6 separate regions of the Homo sapiens genome follow, and all the other regions are linked to region 3. The links are contacts of gene promoters, found by promoter capture Hi-C in blood cells and fetal thymus (Javierre and others, 2016). All regions are on one chromosome and are shown on one strand. The core of a region is centred on a gene start or on the middle of the fragment in contact, and the rest is flanking DNA. Distances in the headings are between cores, read along the strand shown. Region 1 has its middle 49 kb from the start of MIR4308. Region 2 overlaps SOCS4 (suppressor of cytokine signaling 4). Region 3 holds the start of SAMD4A (sterile alpha motif domain containing 4A). Region 4 has its middle 19 kb from the start of GCH1. Region 5 overlaps GCH1 (GTP cyclohydrolase 1). Region 6 overlaps GCH1 (GTP cyclohydrolase 1).

The links. The method cuts DNA at HindIII sites, captures the fragments that hold promoters and counts their contacts. A CHiCAGO score of 5 or more calls a contact.
Region 1: a contact is called between a fragment that was not itself captured here and the fragment with the promoter of SAMD4A in region 3, in 6 of 17 cell types (megakaryocytes, M0 macrophages, M1 macrophages and 3 more). The highest score is 8.0, in megakaryocytes.
Region 2: a contact is called between a fragment that was not itself captured here and the fragment with the promoter of SAMD4A in region 3, in 1 of 17 cell types (total CD8 T cells). The highest score is 5.6, in total CD8 T cells.
Region 4: a contact is called between a fragment that was not itself captured here and the fragment with the promoter of SAMD4A in region 3, in 1 of 17 cell types (M2 macrophages). The highest score is 5.0, in M2 macrophages.
Region 5: a fragment that was not itself captured here is called in contact with the fragment with the promoter of SAMD4A in region 3 in 16 of 17 cell types (total B cells, megakaryocytes, M1 macrophages and 13 more); the score reaches 12.9 in total B cells.
Region 6: a fragment that was not itself captured here is called in contact with the fragment with the promoter of SAMD4A in region 3 in 5 of 17 cell types (M1 macrophages, M0 macrophages, total B cells and 2 more); the score reaches 8.2 in M1 macrophages.

Annotation. Positions count from the first base shown.
Region 1 is chr14:54,827,361-54,830,060 of GRCh38, forward strand. No RefSeq gene overlaps it. Among named protein-coding and RNA genes, the nearest start is that of MIR4308, 49 kb to the right of the region's middle. The HindIII fragment of the contact is 1,921 bases long and covers 489-2,409 here.
Region 2 is chr14:55,030,514-55,033,407 of GRCh38, forward strand. It overlaps SOCS4 (suppressor of cytokine signaling 4), which reads left to right. Exons shown (of 3, transcript NM_199421.2): 2 at 1,350-1,478. Among named protein-coding and RNA genes, the nearest start is that of SOCS4, 4.7 kb to the left of the region's middle. The HindIII fragment of the contact is 947 bases long and covers 796-1,742 here.
Region 3 is chr14:54,565,529-54,568,386 of GRCh38, forward strand. It overlaps SAMD4A (sterile alpha motif domain containing 4A), which reads left to right and starts at 1,600. Exons shown (of 13, transcript NM_015589.6): 1 at 1,600-1,810; 2 at 1,968-2,584. The coding sequence starts at 2,389. RefSeq lists silencers at 382-511, 1,072-1,121, 1,242-1,431, 2,272-2,331, 2,572-2,631. The HindIII fragment of the contact is 5,259 bases long and covers 1-2,858 here.
Region 4 is chr14:54,920,390-54,923,169 of GRCh38, forward strand. No RefSeq gene overlaps it. Among named protein-coding and RNA genes, the nearest start is that of GCH1, 19 kb to the left of the region's middle. The HindIII fragment of the contact is 1,801 bases long and covers 497-2,297 here.
Region 5 is chr14:54,886,185-54,889,139 of GRCh38, forward strand. All of the region lies in intron 1 of GCH1 (GTP cyclohydrolase 1), which reads right to left. It also overlaps the pseudogene FDPSP3. Among named protein-coding and RNA genes, the nearest start is that of MIR4308, 9.5 kb to the left of the region's middle. The HindIII fragment of the contact is 763 bases long and covers 1,025-1,787 here.
Region 6 is chr14:54,855,979-54,858,678 of GRCh38, forward strand. All of the region lies in intron 3 of GCH1 (GTP cyclohydrolase 1), which reads right to left. Among named protein-coding and RNA genes, the nearest start is that of MIR4308, 21 kb to the right of the region's middle. The HindIII fragment of the contact is 202 bases long and covers 1,287-1,488 here.

The DNA of each region.
Region 1 (2,700 bases), core at 199-2,698, 260 kb after region 3:
CAACCCACAATCCCCTGCTTGACATCTTTCCACCAGCTTTTCGCAACTTCAATATCAGTTCTTGGGCAGGGCATGTCTGTGGTATGTCCTCTGCCTATCTCTTCGGTCTCTATCGCCACTACTCCCCTCTCCAACATGGGATCAACCTATAATAGAGCTTTTATTCAGTGTGCTTCAAATATTTGTTTACATTACATATATCTCTCCCTAGACTTGAGGACGGGGAAGTCTCACTCATATTTATACTCCAGCATGCAACACAGTTAAACCTAAGGAAACAAAGCCTTAACAAAGGCACTTGGAAGATCTGCGTTCTCCCCATCAATGGCAACTACTGGTGACAAGGAAGGAAGCTATGGGTGCTGTCTTCTAGGGAGTCTTCTCAGGGCAGGCAGGACCTCACTTCCAGGACTCACCTGGCCTGGTCACCTGTGGGTGGAGACAGGGCCTGACATTCATGAAATCTCCTTTATGTCCAACCCTTCAGAAGCTTCTTTTGATGCCAAGGGGCCCAACTCAGAGCCCACATCTCTATGTCTATGACCTCCTACATTATTTTTGTCTTGGTAATGAAATTTCCAACAATGTAATACTCACCGAAATAGAGCTTCATAGGGATGTTCCTATACTTAGACAGTAAAAACAAATGAGAATAGGGTAGAGGAAAAGGAGAAGCATGAAGTTTAACTCCTTAGAGCCCATCAAGACCTTGAAGCCCTTTAAGACAAAATTTCCATAGTTGCAAATGCTGGGGGAACTGATGCTTACCTGCTCCATGTAAATTCCTCTTTGCAGCCCAGATGGCTGGAGCTCTTTGCTATGCATGGGAGGGAACCACACAAATGTGTTAGATCTGAAGCAGGGGTTTGCAAATTATGGCTTGCTGGCCAAATCCTACCCACCATCTGTTTTTGTATGGTCCATGAGCTAAGAATGCTTTTTACATTGTTAATGAATGAAAAAAAAAAAAAGAATATTTCACGGCCACAAAAATGGCATGAAATTCAAATTTTGGTGTCCATGAATAAAGTTATATTGGAACACAGTCACATTCATTTACATATGGTTTATGGTGGATTCCACACGAGAATGGCAGAGTTGAGTAGTTATAACAGAAACCATGTGACCTGCAAAGTCTAAAAGTTTTACCATCACGCATTTTCCAGAAAAAGGTTGCCAACCCCTGATCTGAAGTACCAAACACCTGTGAATAACAGAAAACTAAAGATGCAAAATGCAGGCCAAATAAAGTTAGTGAGAGCAGTGATTCCTTTATTTCATCTAAGAATTCATTCATAGTCATGTGCCACATAAGGACGTTTTGGTCAATGATGGACCGTATATACGATGGCGGTCTCATAGGGTCCCACACCCTATTTTTAGTGTACCTTTTCTACGTTTTAGTAAGTTTAGATACACAAATACTTACCAGTGTATCACAACTGCCTACAGTATTCAGTGCAGGTTTGTAGCCTAGGAAAAATAGGCCATACTATACAGTTTAGGTGGGTAGTGAGCTATACCATCTAGGTTTGTGGAAGTAAAATCTATGATGTTCACAAAATGATGAAATCGACTAACGATGCATTTCTCAGAAGGAATCCGTGTCGTTAAGCAACACATAACTGTACTTCACTTGTATCCTTTTCTCCCAAAACATCACTTTAGTTGTAACACTCAAGGATATTTCAAATAATCATTACAGACATCCTGCTTACCCATATTCTCTTGGCTCCATATGTGTAGATATAGATATATTTTTTCACTTTTAACATAGTAAATACAGGCACCTAATTTTAAAAAATCAAATAGTGACAAACAGAAGTTTTATAATCTAAGCAAGAGTTCTTTGTCTTTCTCCCTCCCACCTCCTCTCTTAAAGAGACAATCACTTATGTCTTTTTGCTATTTCTTTGGTAGTTACTTGATAAAAAATTGTGCTTAAATTGTTCCTTCTTGATAGATGAATTTTGATGTTATCTAATCTTTGTTATGACAGATGAAGATTTAACTCATACTTCTCCTTCCTCCCAAGATAAAGGTTATCTCACAACAATTTTTAGTTAACTGAGTAATCAGTACTTACATTATGATTATGCAAATAACTTCTCACCACAGGGGCAAGTGGTAGCTCACGGTGACCTTTTTTTTTTTTTTTTTTTTTGAGAGAGGGTTTCACTCCTGGTCAAGCGATCCTCCTGCCTCGGCCTCCACATAGCTGGGACTACAGGCACATGCCACCACACCTAGCTAATTTTTAAAATTTTTTTGTGAAGATGAAATCTCATTACGTTGCCCAGGCTGGTCTGGAACTCCTGGCCTCAAGCAATCCTGCATTCTCAGCCTCCCAAAGTGCCACGGTTATCTTTCTAATTTATACTCCTTTTTGTTTTGTTCCATGTATCTGAAAGCTTTAGAAGGGGGAATGCTGTCCTGGTACCATCAGAAGTTCTAGGTCTCCAAATAATGATCTTCCCCAAATTCAGTACATTATCAGAGCAATTACATATTTAGAAAAGAGATTATGCAGCACAGATATTGCTTTAAAAATAAAAGGTCTGTTCAGAATTATAGGAATGTGAGTCTGAACTTTCCTTCCAAGTCGTAATGCCTCACTGTGGCTTTTACAGAAGGCAGAGTCTGGAATTTTTGCTTCCACTCCTAAGGGAAAGAGTAAAAAGAAAAGGGTGAGGCAGGCAG
Region 2 (2,894 bases), core at 19-2,518, 460 kb after region 3:
CTTTTTCTTAAAAAAATAGTGTTCTTTAAAAAAAGTGTTCCCACCTCTCATTTTTAGAAATGTACTTCTTCTAACATGAAAAGTTCTGAGTAATACTAGGAAGCAGTTAATATTTCTTTTCATTAAGTTCAGTGTATGTTGTTTTCATACCTTTTACTCCTGGCAGTAAAAACATGAGGTAGCTGGCATTATCCAGATTTTACAGTGGGAGAACTTAAGCTAAATTAGATTTTTTTAAACCAGGTAACATACCTAGTGAGTGGAAAAGTCTGAATTGTAGCCCACATTTGACAGTTCAGCAGCTCATGCTATTTCATCTTCACCATGTTTATTTTCAAATATGGTATAGTGAAAAACAGTGTAGGTTGTTAATTTTTTACAGATCTTTAAAACTTTAAAATTTTCTCTTTATGCTTAATTGGTCTCACAAGAAAAAAGAATTCAAGGAAATAAGCCAAAATGTCAAAATTGCTTGCTTTTAAATAATGGAATTATAGCTTTTTTCCCCCTCCTTTTTAAACTTTTCTGAATGGTCCATGTATTATACAATGAGCATATATTGTTTTTATCATAACAAATTACAGATTGGAAGAAAAAATAAATCTGTTCAATCTAATTTATTCCATAAAATGGTTCAGTATTATATCTTAAATATTCTGTTTCTTAAATTCTGTTAATCTTCCTTCTGCTTTTAGAAGTTCAGGTACTGCCAGCTCGTAGTTTCTGCTTTCTTCACTCTAGATTAGCCCCTTCAGTGATGGGTTCCTAGACCTCTCTCCTTATCTTTAGCTAATAAGCTTAGGGAATGTACACTGATGTTAACAGATTAGCCCATTAATGTTTCCCCAAACTTTCTTCCACAAAAGGATTTATGGCAAAGTAAAGACAGGAAGCTATGGTTTATGCAGATTTCTTTACTGAAGGATCTCCTGGGAACGTTTGCTAAATATGCACTGTAATCTTTGAGAGAAGAAGCATTTCCCAAACTTATTTGACAAGAGAACCTTTTTTTCTCCAGAATATGTGTTAACATCTTTCAGAACTAGTGTCCACAAGAGTACAGAGTGGGGAAAAGTGACATAAGCAAACTATAATTAGGAAAGCATGGAAAAAGTGGGGAGAAAGGGAAAGGAGGGTGTAGTGCTACTAAATCAATGATTCTTTTTTAGAAAATTGCAATTAAGTCCCATGAGCCCTGGCTCAGTAGCATGAAAAAAGGAGATACTTTAAAATATTTACTGGAAAATGAACCTGTATTGCTTCTGTAATGAGAAAACATTTGTTTTTTAGGTCAGATATTTTCCCATACAAACAAACCTGTTTTCAGATTTTTTTCTTAACATTCCAAGGAGTTCATCTGTTGTCTGCTCTCCAGTGACTTCCGTTTGTGGAGCCTAAGTGTTTCTACAGAATCCAACTCAAATATCAAGGACTATGATCAGAATGCTTTCAAGGAGTTTTTGGGCACATGATGGCAGGTAAACTTTGGAATCATGAATTTCGTAGGGAAAGTCCCCAGGCTTAATTACTACCAGAATAATAATATATTTGTGAATTATTAATGTAGTATACTGAATTATTCTTTATAGGATCAAATGTATTCCAATTTAGTATTTACATTAGTTGTGGTGTTAGATGTATGTCAGCATCATAGACATAAGTAGTTCAATGAATAATTAACGTATGCAATAATGCTGTTATCCTACATCATAGAGGATACTAATTAATTTCCAGATAAATGAAGCTTATCCTTTTAATTATTGGATTTGAATTGTTTCCTGTAGAAATTTTGAATTAAAATCACCTTCTCAGCCTTAGTCAGTATTACTAAATGTTATTTAAATATTTTGTAATGAAAATTGACATAATGGGCACTCATTTTGTTATTGTTGTCATTGTAATTTGTGGTAGAACCTGGGACCAAATAGTGGCAGAATCTGGGTACTTGTTTTCTTGAGAAGGCTTTTATATAAACTTGCTTTTTAAACATTTGCTTTTTGCTCATTAAGAAATATGACTTAAAAAAAAAAAGATGTCATTCTGTACTCCCCAGGGCAATGTAACATAGCTGCCTTCGTAAAAAATTAATTATTGAATCAAGAGCCAAAGCAGCCTTTTCCCAAGTGATTCTTTCACCTTCTTTTTAAAAAGCTTTTTTGCAGCTACAGTCAAAGATCTTTGATTTGTCACCATCTTTCAAACCATCATCTTTGATTTCTGTGTCACATGAAATTGTTGGTAAAGCCACCTTATTATTATTCTACCTCATGTATACAAAGTTTTTTTTTTTCTTTTGAGACGGAGTCTCACCCAGGTTAGAGTGCAGAGGCACGATCTCAGCTCACTGCAAGGTCCGCCTCCTGGGTTCATGCCATTCTCCTGCCTCAGCCTCCCGAGTAGCTGGGACTAGAGGCGCCTGCCACCACACCCGGCTAATTTTTTGTATTTTTAGTAGAGATGGGGTTTCACCGTGTTAGTCAGGATGGTCTCGATCTCCTGACCTCGTGATCCACCCACCTAGGCCTCCCAAAGTGCTGGGATTACAGGTGTGAGCCACCGCGCCCGGCCCTATACAAAGTTTTTATAAAATTTTAAGAATTAATGATAGGCTATCTGGAACAACTTGTTCGGATTCAGAACCCTACACTTTTTTTTTACATTCAGATTTTACATGTATGGACAAGATACGAAAGCACAATTTCAAAAAACTAATCTTTAGTCTTCATAACAATAAAAATAATTTTTCTCTCACTAAAATTAAGTTATTTTTATTGAAAGCAACATGATTGATTTTTTTATATTTTAGAATTTTGGTTCAAAGAAGCTTCTGGAAGAGATTAGAAAATTCTCTTTATATGTGTTTAAGTATAAAGATATGAAAGTTTGATAGACTT
Region 3 (2,858 bases), core at 350-2,849:
CCCCTCAGCCTCGTGAACCCTTCGCCTCCACGACCCCCGGAACCCATCCCAGCAAGTGCGGCAGTGACCTCGGGTCTCACCGCCCGGGGGCCAAACACCTCGGCCACCCCGGGGCCCCAGAAGGGCCGAGGGTCAGCCGAGCGGACGAACCACATTCCCAAGGACAAGCAGCGGGTGGCAGCACCGCCCCCGCCCGAGCGCCCTCGGGTCCCTTTCTGCCGGGGCTCCAGTGGCTTGAGTGTCCCGACCCCTCCAGAACACGCAGGCGGCCGCAGGAAGAAATTCACCCGGACCCGTCCTCTTCCCCGAACTTCTTCGTTCCTCTCGGAGGTTCCTTCTACCCGACCCCTCTGCGCCACCAGCTCCTCCCACTCCGCTCCCCTCCCCTTTTTCTGGTCCCCACTTAGGAATCCGTCCCCCCGCCCTGCGCCGGGTCCGGGGTTCCTCCCCCCGGCTCCCCCCGCGTGCCGTCGCCGCCGCCCGGGTTCCTCTCCCCCCGCTCGGGCGCTCCCTGCCAAGCCCATGATGTAATGGTGTATGTTAATCAGTAGCATGTGGGGAGCTCCGGCTCGGGCGGCTCAGTCCTCCGCGAGCCGACACTGGAGGCAGCAGCAGCGGCGGCTGCAGCGGCCCCGACTCGAAGCACCGCACTCTCCCCGCGCCGCCCGCCCCGACGGCATGGCCCGCGGCCGGCGCTCCGGGCGCCCCCAACCCCGCTGAGAGCCGCCGCGGCCCCGGACCCGCGCAAGGGCCCCCGAGCCGCCGGGATGAGCCGCGCCGAGGTGAGCGCTCCCTCCCTACGGCCCTCGGCGGGGGACCCGCGGGTCACTGGGGGTCCCCTCCCCGGGGGCTTCCCCCTCCGCCCGAGAAGTTCTGGGAGCCGGAAGCAGCGTGTTGTTGGAAGCTAGCGGCTCCTTGAAGGCTGAGTCGCTGGGTTCTCCTCCCCGCCGGCGGCGGCCACGAGAACCGGGATGGGACTGGGGGAACCCCCGCAGCCGAACTTTCTTTGCTGTCGTTGGGGGGCGTGTGCCTGCGGCGCCGATCCGCATTCCCCGCGGGGCCGCCCCGCTGGCCGAAGGGAGCAGCGCTGCGGACCCCGGCCGTCCCCTCGCGGGGCGTGTGCCCAGCGCTGTGCCGCCCTCGGCCTGCGACGCGCGGGCGAGGCTCCGGGCCGGACAGACCAGCCCGTAGGCGGCGGCGGCAGGATGCCTGCCACACACGCGCGCACACACACACGCACACGCGCGCGCACAGTGACCGCTCCGGCCGGAGCAGGCCCAGGGAGACCTCCCGGGTGGGCTGGTGCGGCGCGGCGCGGGGGAGCCGGGGCTCTGGGTTGCGCCGCCGCCCGCTGGGCGCGGAGCTTTGGGTGGAGAGAGTTTATTTTTGTCTCGAGCTGCTGCCGCGGCTGCTCACGGCCTAAATCCAGAGGGGCGCCTGGCGGTGGAGATGCTGGCTGTTGCTGTAGATGGAGCTGCAGCCGCTCGGCTGCTTCTCTGGGAGGAGGAGGAGGAGTAAGAGGAGGAGGAAGGAACTCGGGCTGCCGCTGCCTCCGCCTCTGCTTTGCATTAGCTCCCACCCCCACCCCCGCGCCCCTTCGCAGCCGCATTGCAAGTTTTCTGCGCGGGGAAGATCTGTTGCTGGTGCTGGCGTTCTTAAGCACGGCGCCCGAGGCCACCCCAGGCGGGCCGTGAGGGGAGCACCAGCCGTTGGCAGCGGCAGCAACAGGAAGCCGCGGGGTCTCCTCCCGCACCTGGGAAGCAGGCTTCTCGCTGTTACCCGGTGGGGAATAGCCCATCTCCCACATCGGGTGCGGAGGGGGCGGAGGGGGCGGCTGGATTTCGGCGAACCCAACCTTCCGCGGGACGCCCCCTCCCCTGGCCCCAGCACCCTCTGATGCCCTCGTCCCCCCAGGGCGCGCTCCTCCGCTAGCCGAGGTCTCACTGCAGCTCTTTCTCTCCTTCCAGTGGTGATCGCCGCTCGGGAATGCGGGCGTGAAGGGTCCGAGTTGCCGCCCAGCGGGGAGGAGACCCCAGGACGCCGGAAATCACCATCCCAAAGCTGCAAGAAGGGGGGAGAAAGCATTCTTCATTCAGTTGTGTGCCTTGTGGGGGATTTTTAAAAAGTCGTTTTTTTTTTTAAAGAAACATTTCCGTGCTACTGTCTGTCATCGTCTCTGGGGAAATCAGCCAGAACCACCGGAACGTAACTGAAACCAGACAAGAGAGGCAGGAGCCCAGGCAGTACCTGCAGCGTCCGGGCACCAGAGCCACCTTGGAACAGGAACGCGTCTCCGGCCGCGGGGCTGCGGCTCCGCCAAACTTTGGGGCGGGCGGGGCGGGCTGGGGCGCCCAGGGGGCTCTGTAGACCGAGGGCGGCCCCCTAACCATGATGTTTCGCGACCAGGTCGGGGTGCTGGCGGGCTGGTTTAAGGGCTGGAACGAGTGCGAGCAGACTGTTGCGCTGCTGTCGCTGCTCAAGCGCGTGAGCCAGACCCAGGCCCGCTTCCTCCAGCTCTGCCTGGAGCACTCGCTGGCCGACTGCGCCGAGCTGCACGTCCTCGAACGCGAGGCCAACAGCCCCGGTAAGTGTGCGGCGGCCGCCGCCGCCGTCCCGCCTGCCCAACCCCCGCTCCTCCCTCCGCTTCTCTGCCTCGGGCCAGGCCGAGGCCAGTCCCTGCCAGCCGCGCCGGGACCTGGACGGCGTGGCCCCGAGGCCCTCGGAATCCACCCCCTCCGGGTGTCCCCCCACTACCGCCCCCCACCTACTTACCTCCGCCGGCCGCTTTGGGATTTTGCCCACTGTGAACTCCGTCAGCCCTTTCCGTGTGGTAGCTACGGTAGCATGAATGATTGATT
Region 4 (2,780 bases), core at 147-2,646, 350 kb after region 3:
TTATACACTGCCTTTCTCTTGGGATTTTATAATACTAAGCAAAGAGCCATCAGCTGAGCCTGCCACATTCTCTTTGAAGGCTGTTGGATAGGTTTTTTTGTGCCTTGAAAACAGAGCAGAAGAAGAGATTTATCTCCAGGGTTTTCTGATCCTATGGGAAAGGAGTAGTCCTTACTCAACAATCATTGTTGATAATCAAGAGAGAGACCTGGGAAATAATCCGATTTTCCCACACAAGGGTCTAACCTGACATTTTCTTTCTTCCCACTGAGAGCAGGCTGGCAAGCACCTTTAAGGCAAAACAACAGTCAAGTTATTGCCAAACCTTTTAGCAAATAGTGTATGAATTTTTCGTTTTAAGTGTAAATATTATTTATTTTAAATTCCCTTTTTCCTTCCAAGACTGATTTTTAAAAAAATTTATGTTGTTTGAATCTCCACAGGCGGGACATTCACTTTGATATTCAATTAAGTGGGTTTTTGTGATTGCTAAGCAAGCTTATCATATGTTTAACAATAATATACTGTTTTTAATTAGAAAAATAAAGACAATTATTTTAAACTGGATTAAAATGTTATAATCATTTTGCTGTATTTTTAAAAATCAGTTTTCCTATGTACAGTTATATTTTATTTTACTTTTTTTTTTTTTTTTTTTTTAGAGACGGAGTCTCGCTCTGTCGCCCAGGCTAGAGTGCGGTGGCAAAATCTCGGCTCACTGCAAGCTCCGCCTCCCAGGTTCACACCATTCTCCTGCCTCAGCCTCCTGAGTAGCTGGGACAACAGGCGCCCGCCATCACGCCTGGCTAATTTTTGTATTTTTAGTAGAGGCGGGGTTTCACTGTGTTAGCCAGGATGGTCTCGATCTCCTGACCTCGTGATCTGCCCACCTCGGCCTCCCAAAGTGCTGGGATTACAGGTGTGAGTCACCGCGCCCGGGCTTTTTTTCTTTTTGAGACAGGGTCTCTTTTAGTCACCCAGGCTGGAGTGCAGTGGCACAATGATGGCTCACTGAAGCCTTGACCTCCCAGGCTCAAGCAATCCTCCTGCCTCAGCCTCCTGGGTAGCTGGGACCACAGGCGCATGCCACCACCCCCAGCTAATTTTTTTTAACTATTTTTAGAAACGGGGTCTCACTATATTGCCCAGGCTTGTCTCAAACTCCTGGGCTCAAGGGATCTGCCCACCTCAGCTTCCCAAAGCGGTGGGATTACAGGCACAAGCCGCCATGCCTGGCCTTATTTTACATCTTTACATTTCACTGGTAACCTCCTTTTTTCTTTTATTGTTATTATTAGCACTATATGAATTTTTCCATGTTACAACAAAATTTTCATAGTTTACAAAAAGAGCTTCTTATTAAAATCTCTTATTAACAACAGAAGTCTTCATCATTGGCTATCACTCAAGGACAATAAGATGACCTTTGTCAGGGTCTTAAATCTGTACCCGTTATAGATAAACAAATTATTCTGTTTTTAAGATATTTTTTAAGATACTATTCTGTACTTAGATAAAAATCTGAAGCATGTGACCTTAGGTAAATTATTTAACCTCTCTTAACTCAGCCTCTTTATCTGTAAAGTGGGGATAATAATGAAACCCAGTTCAAACAGAACTAAGCTCAGGACCTCTCACATGCTGAGCAATCAATAAAGGAACATAGGAAATGTATGTTTTTTTGTTGTTTTTGTTTTTTTCAGACAAAGTTTCACTCTTGTTGCCCAGGCTGGAGTACAGATGCACGATCTTGGCTCACTGCAACCTCCACCGCCCGGGGTTCAAGCGATTCTCCTGCCTCAGCCTCCCGAGTAGCTGGGATTACAGGCATGCACCACCACACCTGGCTAATTTTGTGTTTTTAGTAGAGACAGGGTTTCTCCATGTTGGTCAGGCTGGTTTCGAACTCCCAACCTCAGGTGATCCGCCTGCCTCGGCCTCCCAAAGTGCTAGGATTACAGGTGTGAGCCACTGAGCCCGGCCAGGAAATGTATGTTTTAAACAAGAATCATTTCCTGTCAAAACAAATGAAAAAGAAAGCGTTGGACTTTTACTGCCAGTTATCAAATTAGAGGCCATGTGTAGGGGTAGCCTAAAGAAATATAAGTTGACTGGGTGCAGTGGCCCATGCCTATAATCCCAGCACTTTGGGTGGATCACTTGAGCTCTGGAGTTCAAGATCAGCCTGGGCAACATGGTGAAACCCTTTCTCTATATTAAAAAAAGAAAAGAAAAGAAAAGAAATATAAGCCATGTACAATCCATGGAAAATGTTATCTCTTGATTCAGCAGTGCCAAGCTTGCCTTTGTCAGGAACTGCCAGCCTCCCTCTCTGGCAGAGCCACGGTCAGACAACACAGCGGCTCTCTTCCCCACCTCAGTCAGCTCTGCCTCCAGGCAAGCTTGGCTGGCCTGCACCTCTCAATCGCCCAGCACATCTTGAAAACTCTATCAGACAACACACAGCTGGTTTTCTACAAAGAGCAGGACATGTTATTTTCCTTTAGCCCTCAAATGTCTAAATATTATTCCAAACAAAATTTTGTAATGAATCCCACATTTCTAATTCACTGTAAGCTGCTTTTCAAACATGCTGAAATGCCTAGTGCAAAAGGGAAGAAATACTACTAGATTTTCCAGGGCTTAAAAAAAAATTCTATTTTACAATTTCAGATTTAAAGAAAATTTGCAAAAATAGTCAAAGAATTCCCATACGCCCTTCAACCAGACCCCCTAGATATTAATTCCTGCTTCATCATTTGGCTCTCTCATTGCCTTGA
Region 5 (2,955 bases), core at 156-2,655, 320 kb after region 3:
ATACATATCTGGATTTCTGGTCTCCATTCATTTTGTTCCTGGATGTGAGTTCCTGCTTGGACAGCATTTTTCAAATTAAATTTTACATTTAGTTTGTGATTTCTTTCAAGCCCTACCACAACTCGCATTAGTCAAAACCAGTTATAGGCCGGGCGCGGTGGCTCATGCCTGTAATCCCCGCACTTTGGGAGGCCGAGGCCGGTGGATCACGAGGTCAGGAGATTGAGACCATCCTGGCTAACACAGTGAAACCCCGTCTCTACTAAAAATACAAAAAATTAGCCGGGCGCGGTGGTGGGTGCCTGTAGTCCCAGCTGCTCGGGGGGCTGAGGCAGGAGAATGGCGTGAACCCGGGAAGCGGAGCTTGCAGTGAGCCGAGATCGCGCCACTGCACTCTAGCCTGGGTGACAGAGTGAAACTGTCTCAAAAAACAAAACAAAACAAAAAAAACACCAGTTATTGTCCCGACTTTACAGATGAGGACACAGATACTGTCATTTGGAAACACTAGCTGACTGCTGAAGAAGAGCCAACCAGCCGGTGGGAGAGCTAGATTTTGACCCATCTTCTGACTCCAGACCAGAGCCTTAATCTTGGGCTGAACTCAACCTACTAGAAGTGTGGACTGAAGGGGAGAGGTCCCCTTCAGGAAACACGCATCAGGGGTTATTGTAGGTTGAAGTCTGCCATGTGGTGACAAGGCCCAGAGCTGATGACAGCAAAAGACAGCAAATCTGATTTTTTAAAAGAAAAGTAAAATCCATTATAAACTGTCAGCCAGGAGAGCAGAGCAGAAAGAGTGGCCTAATGCCCAGAGACTGCCAGAACCAAAGTGGTGCGCATCAGTCACAAAATACTGTTTCACCAACTATTTATTTGGCTTATTTGAGGGAAAATTCAGAAATGTAATGCTATGTTGACCTTTTCTTTTTGAAATCAAACTGGAAGAATTTCAGGGGAAAGGAAAATCCCATTAAATCTTCAAACTAATAAAACATTTTTTAAAAAGGAACTTCTCTAGAGAAGCTTATCCTAGAAAACCAGTGAAACAGGGCTTTTAAAAACCAATTAGAAGTCTTTAAATCTTCAAGATCCAAATACTTAGTGTCTCCCAGTTGTGACAGTGCATGAAGTACAGAGCATTCCTGCTAAAAATGTTTTCCAGGAATTTAGTGAGGTCTTTAGACCTGACTTGCAGTTACCAGGAATATGAGAAATATAGAAGTTAAATGAAAACAAACAAACAAAAATCATACAAATCATAAAGGTAGAGTATCTTACAGGACAACTGACCTCTCTGATAAAGCAGTGGCAGGGGTTGGGGGCGGTAGGCGCTATTCCAGATTAAAACGTAATAATCAAATGCAAATGTATGGACCTTGAGTGGATCCTTGTTGGAAAAAATCATTAGTAAAAGACATTTGAGACACCTGAGGAAATGTGAATATATATTAGGTATTAGATGATATGAAGGAATGAATAGCTAATTTTACTAAGGGTGGTGTAAATCATTAAGAAAAACGCTTTTTAGGGTGACATTTCACCTCTAAATACATGTCTCTGATTTACTATCAGTAAACGAATAAACTACGCCAATATGGCAGAATGTTAGTTTTCAATCTAGGTGGTAAGTATATAGGTGTCTATTATATAATTTTGACTACTTTTATGTTTGAAGGTTTTACATAATAAAAAATTAAAGTTTACAAATACATGAGACTAACAGTGAATATTAGTTTTTTCGGTATTACTATTCTACCCAACCACTCCTTTTCTAGTTTATATGAAGCTTTATTAATAAACTAAAACTTCAAGCACTAGTAAAACTAACAACTGGTTATTATTTTGGTAGAAGCAACAACAACATTCTTGGGGGGAAAAGTCTTTAAATAAAGGCTCTGTCTAATCAAAGGAGCTACAGGTAGGAAGACCATAGATCCCAAGAACATTTAGATAAGAAACCTTTTCAAAAATCTGCATCATAAGAAAAAAGACAGAGACCTGTTACTATAGAAACGATTTGCAGGGCTTGAACATTTCCAGGGAAAACAGCACCTCTAGCAAGGAAAGGAGGCTGAAGAGCTTCCTAGGGCCTTGCCTGTCAGCTGCTGGAAGTCAACAGAGTGAGCGATGACAATTCTGACAGGCCCACCCATGCTCAGAGACCTCGGCATGACAATTTAACTCCTAGTCCTACTGCCTCTCCCTTCAGAACAGACCCAGAATAGTCAAGTGACTCACCTACCTAAGTTCATAAACCAGTTAGCATATTACTAGCCCAGGCTAGCTGTTCTTCCCATTACAGCAGCACAAAGCTTTGTTGACATACTAGTTTTTTTTTTTTTTGAGATGGAGTCTCACTCTGTCGCCCAGGCTGGAGTGCAGTGGCATGATCTCCGCTCACTGCAAGCTCTGCCTCCCGGGTTCACACCATTCACCTGCCTCAGCCTCCCGAGTAGCTGGGACTACAGGCGCCCACAACCACGCCCGGCTAATTTTTTTTTTTTTTTTTGTATTTTTAGTAGAGACAGGGTTTCAGCGTGTTAGCCAAGATGGTCTCGATCTCCTGACCTGGTGATCTGCCCACCTCAGCCTCCCAAAGTGCTGGGATTACAGGCATGAGCCACTGCACCCAGCCTATACAACTAGTTTAAGAAATACCAAGGAGATTTCAGAATTAGATCAGTGAACAGAATTTCCAACATGCTAAATATGAAGCTGAAAGATGTGCATCTACTTTTTATAAACTACTTCACTTATAAACAGCCCCAGCCCTCAAAAAGCTGTTTACTGTGGTGGAGGAGGGGTAGAAGGGGAGAAAGAGATGACACCAAAATGAAAGGACACGCAGCATGGGATAAGTATGGCCTCCGTGGAGGCAAAGCCTGACAGCACTAACAGCTGGAGGCTGTCAGCAAACTGTTCCTTGAAGCTGAAGGGCAGATTCTTTTTGAT
Region 6 (2,700 bases), core at 138-2,637, 290 kb after region 3:
ATTCACTCATTTGTATTTAAATGGTATGTTGCTTTTATAGTCAAAAAAGAAAAAAAAATACTGCTCCCTCTGTAATCTAATACTCACCTCACTTACTCTTACTTCCATCAGTCAATCTGGTTCCCATCCACTGGAATAGGCCTTGCTCCTACCCTCTGACTGGTCTTTGCTCATGCATTAACTATACCTAGAGAAACTTCTCCCCCATTTAGAATTCTGCTCATCCCTCCACCTCCAGGTCTATTCACCTGCCAGGCCACAGCCATCATGGCTCCTCTGAACTTGGAGCTACAGCAGGCATTTCCATGGCACTTGCAGTCTTGCCCTGTGCACTCTCCTTGAGGGTGGCTGCCATGTCCTGCTTCTTTAGCCTCCACAGTAGCTGGCACAGTGCCCACCCAACAGGTCAGCCATGGCTACCTGAGATACTACAACTCTAAATTCAAGATTTCGTACATTCACTCAATTATTTATTTATTTATTTATTTTTAGTGACACAGAGTCTTGCTCTGTCACGAGACTGGAGTGCAGTGGTGAAATCTCGGCTCACTGCAACCTCCGCCTCCCAGGTTCAAGCGATTCTTCCATCTCAGCCTCCGAAGTAGCTGGGATTACAGGCGCATGCTACCATGCCCTGCTAATTTTGGTATTTTTAGTAGAGATGGGGTTTCACCATGTTGGCCAGGCTGGTCTGGAACTCCTGACCTCAAGTGATCTGCCCACCTCGGCCTCCCAAAGTGCTGAGATTACAGGCATGAGCCACCTCACCCAGCCGAGGCTCAGTTATTTCTAAGGGAAGAAAATGAATACATGTTCAATGGCTTTTCAGCAACAAAAGAAAGTTCTATTCAAACTAAGTTTATTCTAGAATTCTACTAGAGTTGAGCCAGATCAACTCACTTCTGGCATTTTCTTGTTACTTAAGGCTTTACTGCTTGATATTTGACTTCACTGGCACTGAAAGGTCATTCATTTAAAGGCAAGCATATAACAAACTTCATATATAAGATTAAAATGAGCAGTGAAGTTTTGCTAAGACATTCAGCTTTTATTCCTCTTCATTCTCTAAATATTCTTACTTCTTATAAGGAATAAGTAGTTGGATAAAATCTTAGTCTTCTTTTCTATTTAATAGACTCTTTATTCAAATTTTTTGCAAAATATTTGAAAGCAACATACACTTGGTTCTTTGGCTTCATGTTCCATTTTATTCTTAAATTTTAATCCTATTAGTCTAAGGACAAATCCCCATGCTAATAATCAACTCCTTTGTATTGTTTCATAAAAGCTTAATTATTTGAGATCTTTTCCTTTCACTTGGAAAGGAAATAACTAAGATTATTTCCTTCTACCACCAGGTTGCCATTTATTGTATGATCTCACTGAATCACTCAAGAGTCCATTTCCCATAAAGTGTTAATCATGATCAACAGTTGGTTTTTCAGAGAAGGCTGTTACATTAAGACCAAGGCCTAATGTGATCTGCCAAGCTTTTTTACACTATGAAACTATCCATTACACCTTTCACATATGGACAGTCTGTTATAGGCATCAGCAGTGCTGGAATTTCTATATGGGCAAGGTATAGGGTTAGCAATCTTGCTGACAGGGAGGCCCAGGGGACTGGGCCTACAGCTATGTTTGCACAGTAAGCATGCTGATTTTACTTAGACTGTATATTATAAAACCATAAGAATAACCAATTTTAGTAAAGATACTTTTACTCACAGTTGACATGAAATTGGTTTAATACATCATTAGTTGAGGGTAAGTTACTGGGAAGGGAGTCGTTAATAAAAATTATAGTAAGATTAATTACTCCCAATCACTACCAACACACTTTTTCTCAGCAACTTTTCAGCACTGCCACCAGGGATGGATCACACGCAAGCAGCCAGAATGTTTCTGGATTTGTGCTAAGAGCCTTATTCCAGTGAAGCAATTACAGCTATGATATAATATTCTTTCATGGTGCCAAGCAGCCCTATCTAATAGCAAAATAGCTGAGCAGGAATGAGGTCAGAAACTGGGGAAGTTAAATTTGTCTCTTCTACCCACTTTCTTATTGATCCCCAGAGGAAATGAATGAGAAAGTGGAAGTGAAAACAAAGTAACAGGAACAACTTTAGAGGGCAGTTGTCAGATTGCTGGAGTAGTTTTTTTTTTACAGATTCCAACACAGAATTGAGAAATATCAGGACCACCATTTCACAACTGTGTTAAATCCCAGGGCCTGCATAAAGAAACAGGAACACATCAGAGCCACAGCACAGTCAACTGGTCACAGAGACTCATTTATTCCTCTTCTTTTATTTTTATTTTTTTGAGATAGGGTCTTACTCCATCGCCCAGGCTGGAGTGCAATGGCACAATCTCGGCTCACTGCAAGCTCTGCCTCCCGGGTTCAAGTAATTCTCCTGCCTCAGCCTCCTGATTAGCTGGGATTACAGGTGTGCGCCACCACGCCCAGCTAATCTTTGTATTTTTAGTAGAGATGGGGTTTCACCATGTTGGTGAGGCTGGTCTCAAACTCCTGACCTCAAGTGATCCGCCCGCCTCAGCCTCCCAAAGTGCTGGGATTACAAGTGTGAAAGACGGCACCCGGCCGAGACTCATTTATTTCAATTATGATATGGTCACTATAACCTCAAGTTATTCAAACTTAGCTTGATTATTTTTGAAAAAAAAAAAGAGTAGGAA